Linked DNA regions of Homo sapiens: region 1 is linked to region 2. Evidence: promoter capture Hi-C in 16 types of primary human blood cells and fetal thymus (Javierre and others, 2016). All regions are on one chromosome and are shown on one strand. Each heading gives the region's core, a stretch centred on a gene start or on the middle of the fragment in contact. The rest is flanking DNA. Distances are from core to core; before and after follow the strand shown. Region 1 overlaps CFAP61 (cilia and flagella associated protein 61). Region 2 holds the start of INSM1 (INSM transcriptional repressor 1).

Region 1 (5,905 bases), core at 784-3,283, 260 kb after region 2:
TCTACCTTTTTGTAAACTGAATCCTGCTATCTTACACATGTTGCCAGTAATTAATGTTTCCAAATTTTCTCCCATCCTCCTGACTTGGCATCACTGAAAAATCTGACTGCCCGGAACCTTGAGACTCTAGGTTGTCTTGTTTTGCCCCTTTCCCTCCAAGGTCTTAAGAAGCCCTGTGAGCTGAAGCTAGATGGCTTGACATGAACTTCAAAATAGTCATCATCACAATAGATCAAGTGTGAGTATGGGCCTCGTGCTTGGAGCTGCTGCTGTGTGGGCCACTCAGGAAGCTCACTATAACACTCATCTTCTATGCTGCGCTCCAGGAAACAGCCATGACCGTGGTTATAGTGATTTGCTATCTACGCCATCACCAACAACCTTCAAACTGCAAACTGGGAAATCTGTCAGTTTGCCAATACCATGCTCACTCCCCTGTCTAGAAACGCTTCAAACCCAATGTTTAAAAGTCTTTTTGACTGGATGCCCTTTGGTCTCAGAAACTAGGTTGATAGTTGCTCCAGATATTAATCTTGATTTTTATTTTTGTTTCCGCATTCTAATCTATGTTGCTGTCTCCTTTTGCAGATTTCTTTCCTTGGAACTTGTAGCCCTAGTCTTCTCTCCATAGCAATCAACCCTGCTCCTTGTTTGTGAATGTTTTTGAGAAGTTTCAAATGGGGGAAATGAAGAGCTTAACAACCACCAAACCAGTTTATACATAGTATTATATATTATTTTATATATAATACTTTTTTCTCCTGTTAATCTGTTGGTCAATTTGCAGGCCCCCACCCGCTTGGACCTAAGTTGGTAGAGCAAAACTTTGTCTTCCCAAGAAGTGCTTTTATTTTAAAACAAGGAAGCCTAGGCAAGTGGATCACCTGAGGTTAGGAGTTCGAGACCAGCCTGGCCAACACGGTGAAACCCCGTCTCTACTAAAAATACCAAAAATTAGCCAGGCATGGTAGTGCATGCCTGCGATCCCAGCTACTAGGGAGGCTGAGACAGGAGAATCACTTGAACCTGGGAGGCGGAGGTTGCAGTGAGCCGAGATTGCGCCATTGCACTCCAGCCTGGGCAACAAGAGCGAGACTCCGTCTCAAAAAAAAAAAAAAGAATGAATCAGGCAATTAGACAATTAGAATAGGAAGAACAAAACACATTCAAAGAAATCAGGAGAAAGAGGTCACAAAATGAAAGCAGATATTAATAAATTCAAAAAGAAACCCATAGACTTGATAGATTAAGAGCTAGCTCTTTGAAAAGACCAAACAGGAAAACCTAATTAAAAGACAAGACAGAGTAAAAAGCAAAGATGACTTTAAGAAGAAAGAGATATAATCACAGCTACAGGAGAGAATAAATTGTAGGTAAAGCTTTAGACCGAGCACTTGGGAGCTGGGTCCATGTCGTTTGTGAGCACCCTAGTTAGAGGGGGAAGGGAGTCTGCCTTGCTGAAGTCTATTCTGGCTACAAAGTAAGTCAGGAGCCATCTGCCTGAAATGGACCACGCACAGCAATTACCAGAGGCTGACACCAGCTCAAGCATAGAAGGACTGACGTATGGAACAACCAAGAGCATCATTTACCCAAGGAGAGCTCAACAGCCTCAAGTACCTGTGGTGGGATGCTGGGTGGTGCAAAGATGAAACCCCAAGCAAGGAGTAAAACAGGATCAGTTGATTCCAAGTGAAAATCAGGGTAGAGCTAATACAGAGTTCAGGAAGAAAGACATTATTACAGACTTCTGCACAGACTGGGATAAGTGAAAATAATTTTAATTTTTACCTAAAAGAGTCACTTTAGTCAAGTGATCAAAGTGACACACATCATCATCAGTAACAGGGCAGACTGAAAATGTATCACACCAGATAGGATGGACTGAGAGCCCAGAGTTCCACATGCATGACATGACTCTCACCATGAATAAACATCAAACAAACAAAAATAAATTACGTTCTACAAAATTATGGGCTAGGTCATAAAAAGCAGGGAAAGACTGAGCAACTGTTCCACATTGAAAGACAATATGACAAGTAACTGCAGTTTGTTATCCTGGACTGGATTCTTTTGCCACAAAGGACATCCTCAGGACAAATGAAGAAATGTAACTGGTGTCTTTGGATTGTGGATTAAATTGTAGTAACATATTCATGTTAATTTCCTGATATCAGTGGATGTTTGAGGTTGCAAAGGAGAATGTCCCTCTTTATAGCAAATACATACAAAAGTATTCCAAGGTGCTCCAACAACTTCATGTTGGCAACTTACGTTGACATGGATTAGGAAGAAAAAAACGTATCTGCAACTTTTCTGTAGATTTAATAGTTTCCACATTTTAAAAAATATAGGGAGGAAATAAAAGCGTTGCTCTATTGCCACTTCTATGACTCCAGCCCTTTTGTCATTTTAGTTCATTGCCTCCCTGTACTCTTCATAACATGTGTTTTATTAGGTGACTTTACTGATACTGCAATTCATTTTGCATTGATTTTTTTTTCACCTGAGATTATATCTGAACCATTTCCCCTCACTATTTGTAACCTTCTTCTTAAAGGCTTCTGCATATCTATCTAAGGGATATTCACAAGTTTAGCCATCTCCTTGTGGGAGACTTGGGGTTTTTACATTTGTTTATTTGGATATTTTTTGTTTGTTCATTTTTAGTATTATGATTAAGCTTAGTGAAATTCTTGCATATGGATCTTTTTATAGTATTAGTATTATTTCCTCAAATTTGCTATAGTTGAAGTCAAAGAACATGAACATCTAATGCATTCTGTGATAACCATGACTAAATTGTACTCCAGAATGTTATATCAGTCAACCTTCAGAGCATCAGAAAATCTGAGTGCTCATTACAGTGCTTCTTGCCCAGAGCTAAGTGTTTTAATTACAATGCATATTTACAATTTAGTAGGCAAAATGGGGGAGAAAAAGATCTTGGGTTTTAATGTGCATTTCAGTTTTAGGGAAGTTTAATATTTTCCCACATTTATTATGAATAATATTTTTATATAACTACTTTTGTGATTTGCTTTTCTCTTTATTTTAGAATATTTCATGTAGACTTAAATCAGTACTCAATAAAAAAGACAGGCTGGGTGTGGTTGCTCATCCCTGCAATTCCAGCACTTTGGGAGGCCAAGGCAGGAAGATTGCTTAAAGCCAGGAATTCAAGACCAGCCTGGCAACAAAACGAAACCCTGTCTCCAAAAAAATGTAAAAATTAGCAAGGTATGGTGGCACATACCTATAGTCCAGCTACTCAGGAAGCTGAAGTAGGAGGATCACTTGAGCCCAGAAAGAGTTCAAGGCTGCAGTGAGCCATACTTGCACCACTGTACCCCAGCCTGGGCAACAAAATGAGACCTTGTCTCTGAAAAAAAGAAAAAAAATTTTTTTAAGTATTTTTCCACAGAGTTGGATACATATATACACACATATATTATACATATACTCCTATATATATCTCCACTACTGTATGCTAATTTTTCATCTTCATATACTAAATTAAGCTTTTCTAGAATAATCTTATTTCCAAAATTGATTCAAAGGAAATAGAAAACCTGAATCTATTAACTACCTTGAGGAGAAATGGAAAAGTTGTCAAAGATGCTTCCAAGATGCCTCTACCAGGTCTTCTACTGAGTGAGCCTATCTGTCCATGGAGGTCTGAAAATACCGAAAGTCCAAGCAAAATGCAGTGGAGAGAAGGCCTCTGACCCAGTAGTCAAATAACTGGCTTCATGTTGAGCTTCAGAATTAATAAATTTTCCTTTGTTTGTTGCCATGTGCAAAAACTGTGCTTTTCAGTAATTGCTTCCTTAGCCGCTTGGCTCAGATTAAATTTGGTCCATGATATTTTAAGAATCATCAAAAACTCTTTGTAAACAGAACTCACAGTGACCTCAGTGCAATGGGTGTGACCCACTGATGGCCAATTTAATCAAGGGGGAATTCAAAGTATTCAGTGCAAGCAATTGATTTTCAAGAGAAAAGTCAGCAGGATCAAACACCCAGTTGGGATGAAAATCCCTTGAATCACCCCTATCACCGTGTTTTCTAGCAACTAACTGCTGACTCCATATAGCGTAATAGCCAAATTACTATAATTATCCTGCAACACAAGTGGCATATCAACATTATTTTAAACACGGATTTTTTTTGCATAATCTTTCGTTATTATCTTTCAGCCTTCCATCTGAAAATGGAAAACAACAACAAACTGTGATCTACCCCAACAGGAAAAAGGTCACCAGAGAGAACAAATAAAAGGGTTATTTACATGTGAATGTACTGAGATGTGTTTTACAGTCAAATACACTCTTGAACTTCATTAAATGCCTTCTCCCCTGCTTCATAAATATGGGCAAAAGAGACATCCCCTACTGAGAAAATAATCCCAGCACATAATGATCATAACGAATATAAATAAAGCCACTTTTCTTCTGAAGACCTCCAGGCCCCATACAAAAATGCGCTTGTATTTCCACCATTGTGAAATGAATCTGACTGTTGGAGAACAAGGCTGTGATATCACAGGTCGCTCCCAGGGCTGAAGAGGAAAGGAGGAATGCAGATCTCAGTCATGTTGCTGTCTGCAAAATAATAGATTCTTAAGTGGTTGCCATCCTTTGATGCTATGGTTGTTTTTGAAGACATTAGAAAAGGCTTAGAAATCAGCTTTGGAATTAAGATGGAGAATTGACAACAGGTTTTATGAAATAACCAAAAGGCTCACCAAGATGGCTTTGGGGTCATGTCCCTGACAACAAGTTCTGGGCTTCAGGTCTGGATTACAGTCTTCCTGGTATCCTACCAGTCCAGGGGCTCTGCCCTGAAAGCCCTGAAAGAGTCTAAACTCTCAACATTGGAGATGCCTGGGTATAGGTCTGGTATGATTTATTTGTTTTATCAACATCTCTTGCAAAGCTTTAGAATTAACAAAGTAGATTCTAGAAAATCAAATTTTATATATATATATATATATATATATATATATATATATATATATATATATAGGCAAGAGTAGCTAAAGCTTTCGAAGATGTTGCCTTCATATGCTAAAGACATTCAGTGGCTTAAAAAAATGAAATTCATCATGCCTGTAATCCCAGCACTTTGGGAGGCTGAGGTGGGCGGATCACAAGGTCAGGAGATCGAGACCATCCTGGCTAACACAGTGAAACCCCATCTCTACTAAAAAAAAAAAACTCAAAAAAATTAGCCGGGCATGGTGGCAGGCGCCTGTAGTCCCAGCTACTCGGGAGGCTGAGGCAGGAGAATGGTGTGAACCTGGGAGGCGGAGCTTTCAGTGAGCCGAGATTGCACCACTGCACTCCAGCCTGGGCGACAGAGCGAGACTCCGTCTCAAAACAATAAAAATAAATAAATAAATAATTCAAATTTTAACAAGTATAAGTTAGTATATTAGGGCTATGTATGAACATTAAGTAAAGCCGACTTTGCTGCCACTGTCTGCATTACTATCAGAGCCTTGAGTACAGGCATCAAAGAACCACACCACAGGATCTAGGAGAAGGAAAGAAAAGGGGAGGAGGGAGAACTGAGATGCTCAAAGCCCAGATCACAATGAGAAAATGGCAAATTTGGTGGCAACTGCTACCAAGTGAGTAATATTGCTGTGTGGCCACTGAGTGAGAGCTATAATGGGCCCCAGAACTCACCCTAGCCTCCTGGGAAGTGGAGGTGACCAGGGCACAGAAGCCTGTAAGAACAGAACTCCTCTCCTAGGGGGATCTGAAACCCATGCCAGGAACAATGAGAAGCCCATTGGTGGGACACAGGGACTTTCCTCGGGCACAGAAGGTTGGGTGGGTGCGGCTTACATCCAGCCAGGGGAAGAACATGGGCTTATGAGAGGATGTAGACATCCAAA
Region 2 (5,588 bases), core at 2,730-5,229:
ATATGTAGTCATCAGTGATAAAAAGCTCCATGCAATTTGTCCTGGAGGCAACTTACCTGTAGAGGTTTCTCCTTCATTGTTATTCGAAGGCTGTTTCCAGACCCTCACAAAGGGAGGAATATTCCACATTCCTGCTAGCTGAGCCTGCTAGCTAAACCCCGTCCCACAGAAAACTTGAGGCTCACAATCTGAAAATGATCTCTTTCCTCAGTTTGTCCTTCCAAGTTCCTCATGGACTGCCCTTCCCAGCCTCATTCCAGCTCTTCTTTGGAGATGCAAATCCCTTTACTGTGCAGATTTCTAAAATCTCTTTGGCAGGCAAATGTTAGCTTTAGCGGACCTCAGGAAAAAAAAAAAGGCAGCAAAAACACACAAAAGGAAGGGAACACACACATGCACAATTGTGAGATTTAGCACAGCTCCTTCATGAGATGTTTCCAAGACAGAGGAAAACAACCCAAAATATTCACTGGTGAGAGTCAGAATTGTTCTTGAAAGAGCTGAGTGACACATAATGGAAAACATTGTAATTACCTGTTATTAAATTTAATACCCCAAACAGATGGTGTTCCATTTTCCCCCCAAACAGACTGCTCACCTGATTGGAAAATTATTTCTAAGCCCTTGCCCCCAGTTGCTTAACTTCCCATTGCATCCAAATGTGAATCGGGTTGCTGCCCGTGCTTTGCAAATCTGACGGTAAAGTCATTTCTCCTTTCTTGTCGTGAACAAAAACTACCCACTTTATTTATCTGAGGAATTACTATCACCCTGAGCCCCAAATTTTTGGGAATGAAGGACTTGCTAAATGAAAGTGCAGTGCAAAGAACAGCTTCTTAGGGACACTGATCTAGATTTCTCTGAAAAGATGCCCAGGGCCTTCATTCTAACCCGCCTCCTGGCACATTACTAAGGACCCCAACAAGGCTTGTTTCAGCCAGCCGCTACCAAGGCTATACCCTCAGGCTGCCAGAAGGGCAGAGTTCCGCAGCTGAGGTTCAGCTCTGAAAACCCACCATCCTGGTGGTTCCCTTTTTCCTAATAAAAAATAAAGTTACATTTTAAGAAACCATCAGAAGCTCTATTTTAAATTCGTCCTGAAAGCATGTGATGCAGAAATCAGGCCACCACACTTTGACTTTGAAAATATTTTATTTGAATAGTAAATAGTTATACAGTTGAAACAGTTCTATTGAAGCTTTCTATAAATAGCTAACAATTAAGAAAATAATGTATGTAGAAAAGAGATTGCATTTAAAAGTAAGAGCTGTCGGTTGTACAAGGGCCCTGGGGACCCTCGAAGCAGAATAAATGATAGGTTGTCTGTAATTCACTCAGATAGGTATAAAAGTTAAAACTTTAAGCAGATCCCTTTAGAAAAAGGCTCTCTTCTAAAACGCACAGTGGAATGTCAAGAGTGGCAGGGTGGGGAGGGGGCAGCGCGCCAAAAAAATCTGCAATCAAATAATATCATAATCTTCATAATTAATATAAATAAATAAAGAATAAATAACAATTACTCATAAATCAACATATACATTTAGAGGGAACTGATAGTCCTACCTCAACAAAGATGATCAAACCAAAAAGTCTTACGTGAAACACTGAGGCAGTTACTACAGCATCTTCGGAACACTCCCTTCCCTCCCCCCACAAAACAATCCCAGACAACAGTTCAAGGCATTTGTGGCTATACTAAAGAAAACTCTTTTTTAAGCAATTTGATTTGTTCACATACAAAAAGGTAAAGCCAGACTCCAGCAGTTCACAAGCCATAATAAAGCTAATCGTGTGGGAAGTTCAATTTACAGCCTGTGAAATATAAAGGCATTTATTCCTCAAGATTCACCCAAAACAACCCGTACGCTACATACATAGAGAGCAGAGATTGGTAGGCGAGGCGAGACCAGACCGCATTTCTAGACCATGAACACAGCGAATACTAGCAAGAAAAAAAGCTTCTCCCCGCCAAGGGGAGGCTTCCAACCACGAGACAAACGCGTACAGCTTTTCTCCCTTGTACAGAAAGAGACTGACTCCTGTTGCGCCATGGGGGAGGCGGAGGGACACAACGTAAAAGTGGGGGTTCCAAAAGGAGTCAAAAGGAGAGTATGGGGTTACCGTCACGCCACACCGAGAGAAGCGGAGACGACACTTTCACCCGGTGGGGGCGGGGGCGAGGCTCCCCCAGCGCGGACTCGGGTTCGGGGAGTGCAGGGCGCACTCTCTTTGTGGGTCTCCAAGCGAAGGCACAGTTCGGGGGCCGGGGTGGAGGGCGCGCTCTAGCAGGCCGGGCGCACGGGCACCTGCAGGAGGATCACCTGTCTGTTTTCGGATGGGTGGCACTTGTTGATGTGCCGCGTAAGGCCGGGCGAGCTGTAGAAGGTGGCCGGGCAGTACTTGCAGGGGAACACCTGGGCGGCGTGCAGCAGGCGCAGGTGGCGCTCCTGAGCGCCCTTGCTGGCGAACGACTCTCCGCACACTGGGCACAGGTGGCACTCGGCGGACGCACTCAGGCCCAGCACGCCGGCCCCCTCGCCGTCGCCGGCCGCCTCCTGGGGCGCCTTCTCGTCGGGCCCGGGGTACAAGGCCAGTAGGTCCTCGGCCGGGGGCGCTAGCGGCGCGCCCTTGGCCTGCAGCGCCTGGTGGTGCGCCAGCAGGTGCTTGCGTAGGTAGGCCTGGCGGCGGAACTTCTTGGCGCAGTGATGGCACTCGTAGAGCCCGTCCTCGGAGCCCGACTCGGACACGCCGCCGGGGCTCGGCGTGTCCCGGTCGCTGCCGCCGCCGGGTGCCTCCCGCGCCTCAGCCCTGGCTGCTGCTTCTGGCTCCGGCGCGCGGGCGGCGGCGGGCGCGGGCCGCGGTTTGTGCCAGCGGCGGTGCGAGGCCAGGTTGGCCGGGCAGCTGAAGACCTTGGCGCACTCGGGACAGCGGTACTCCACACGCACGATGCGCGAGCATTTGTGCTGCGCCAGCGCGAACGGGTCGGCGTACTCCTCCTTGCACAGCTGGCAGATGAACTCGCCCAGCGGCCGCGCCGCGCCCCCCGCGCGGCCCCGCGGCGCCTCCACCGGGCCCTCCTTGATCTTGAGCCCCAGCACGGGCGACGTGGTCACCTCGTCCTCGAAGTGCAGCTTGCGGATGGCCTTGGGCTTCTTGGCGCCCGGGGCCTTGACTGCCTTGGCGGGCGGCTCCGCGGCGGTAGGGGGCGGGGGCCGCTTTCCCGGGGGCCGCAGGGCGGCGGCAGGGGGCAGTGGGGGGCCGGGGCCCGGGCCGCGGGCCGCCTCGGCGCCAGCCGAGAACGCCGTGCCCATCTTGAGCTCGGCGGGCGCGAAGAGCAGCGGGTCGCCGCCGCAGGTGCCGCCTCCGCCAGCTCCGCTCGCGCCGCCGCCGCCGCCCCCTCCGAGCAGCGCGGCGGGCGTGGGGAAGGACTCGGCCGAGACCGGCGAGCCCAGGTTGAAGCTGCGTTCGAAGTACTTGTGCTTCTCGTGCTCGCGGCTCACGGGCCGCGTGGGACTGTAGAGCGGCGCGGGGTGCGCAGCCTCGGGGTTGCCGAAGTGCGCGGCCCGCGGGCCCTGCGGGGGTGGCTGCGGCCCAGGCGCGCAGGCAAGCGCGGCGGCGAGCGCTGCATGGGCGCGCTCCGCGGGCGGCGGCGGCGGCAGCGGCCCGGGGACCGGGCTCGGCGCCGGGGGCTCGGCGCGGGCGCCCCCGCAGCTGGGCGAGAGCAGCAGTGCGCGGTCGCCGTCCTCGCCGCCGCGGACCCGGTAGGAAACGGGCGTGGACTTCTTGCTGCGCTTCACCAGGAAGCCGCGGGGCATGTTGGCGCGGCCCGAGGGCACGGCACTGGCTCGGTCCCCCCTCCGCGCTCGGCCCCGGCGGCCCTCAGTGCCCCCGGCCCATTGCCCGGGCGCGGCGGCTGCGGGACTCGCGTGGCGCCGGCGACGGCTCGGCCCAGCTCTGCGCCCTGCACGCGCGTCCCTGTCCCCGGGCCCGGCAGCCGCTCCCTTTTAACGGGGGGAGGGGGCCATTGTTCTCGCCTCCCGCTTCCCCTGGAGCCAATCAGCGCGTCCGCAGCTCCTCAGCCTGGCAGGGTGGGAGGGCGATGGGGCGGCCAAAAGGGGGCCGGGACTCGGGGGTCGCCCGGTAGGTGCGGCAGATGTACCTGAGGGCGCGGGGCCCCCGCGCGCGCCCCTGGTCGCCCCGCCCGGCGCCGCCGCCCCGCCCGGTCCAGGCACACGCCCGGCCCCGCCTCCCTTCACGGTCTGCTGCTTCTCTATGGGGAGGCGCACGTGCCTGGGCTTTGTGTCTCTCCTCCGGGGGGCGCGGAGCCGCCAAATGGGCCCGTCCATCAGCGCGACAATGCACGCCCCCCTCCCGCGCGGGGATTACCCGCGGGTCGCTAGCAAAATAGCAACAAAGGAGAAGAATGGCCCCAAATATGTCAGGAGGGTTCAATCCGCGAGCCGGAGCCGAGGGGGAAGTTGTGCGCGCTGATTGGGTGGGGGCGGGGGCGCGCCGGGGCGGTGCGGGGGAGATCGTTGCGGAGGCGCAGTGGCTCCGCGTGGTGTTTGGGAAATAAACAAGAATCCGAGAGAGCAGCAGGGTCCGGACGGCCTCCGCCCGGACCTTGGACGGATGGGCCGCTGGACCCAAGAGGCCAAGCAAAAGGGTTCCCCGGGGTTCCAAGTGTGGACAGGGGGCCCGGCCTTCTGGCAGTGGCCGAGGGCGATGTTTGTGCTCGCAGCCTCCGCGCGCCCACGGGGCTAGAGAAGGTTTCTTTCGAGTTTGAGAAGGAATTGGCACGGCCTTCTCAGTCTCCCGAAAGCGCGGGATTGGAGCGCGGGCGGGCTGGGCTGGGTTCCCAGAGGAACGTGAATTTCTGAACTTTTGGGTTCTTGGAGGCTTGGGAATGGCATCTTTGGCGGGGCCCGACCCAGGCCGCCCGGAGCTTCCGCGTGGTCCAAGGCTCGGTTAATCCGGGTCGAGTTGGCCGAAGCCCGAAACGCGCGGTCGGCCTCGTGCGCCCCAGTGAAGTTGGCTTTCTCCTCCCCGCGCGGCCTCATGCATTTTCATTCCGAGCGGGCATTTTGTTTGCCGGTTGACATCAGATGCTAAATCAAGGGCTCCAATCAAGGCGCTGCGAAATAAAGGGGCTGCCTGTCTGGGCGCAGCCCCCACGGAGCCGTGCCCCCTTCACCTTTGTGAAGGAAATTAACCTCCTGCTATTGAGCTCCGGTCGCGGCCAATCTGGACGCAAAAGAGACGCGTGCTGGACGGGGGGAGGGGGGGCAATCTGTACTCTGAGGCAGGCTGAGGCCTCCGAGAGGACAAGCCGCCTCCCCTGTGCCACCAGGAAGAGACAACAGCGAAGATTCCCCCCGCCCCCACCCCCACCCCCACCTCCGCTGCCGTTCCGTTTGGACCCAGACTGGGCCGCCTGCCTCCATCCTCTGTCCAGCCCAGCCCCGAGGAAACACAAAAGGCAGAATCTTCGGGGGACAGGGCAGAGAACCCCACGAGTGCGTAGTGGCCCTGATCGTCCAACACTGGGGAACAAATAGCCAAGCCACATAAAATGTCATATGCTGTGA

The links. Contacts are between HindIII fragments. The CHiCAGO score rates a contact against its expected background, and 5 or more counts as called.
Region 1: a contact is called between a fragment that was not itself captured here and the fragment with the promoter of INSM1 in region 2, in 1 of 17 cell types (M2 macrophages). The highest score is 5.4, in M2 macrophages.

What each region holds. Positions count from the first base shown.
Region 1 is chr20:20,105,123-20,111,027 of GRCh38, reverse strand. The region is part of intron 8 of CFAP61 (cilia and flagella associated protein 61); the gene reads right to left. Among named protein-coding and RNA genes, the nearest start is that of CFAP61, 56 kb to the right of the region's middle. RefSeq lists an enhancer at 4,282-4,846. The HindIII fragment of the contact is 1,304 bases long and covers 1,382-2,685 here.
Region 2 is chr20:20,366,495-20,372,082 of GRCh38, reverse strand. It overlaps INSM1 (INSM transcriptional repressor 1), which reads right to left and starts at 3,979. Exons shown (of 1, transcript NM_002196.3): 1 at 1,134-3,979. The coding sequence starts at 3,815. The coding sequence ends at 2,283. RefSeq lists an enhancer at 4,116-4,886. The HindIII fragment of the contact is 3,677 bases long and covers 1,961-5,588 here.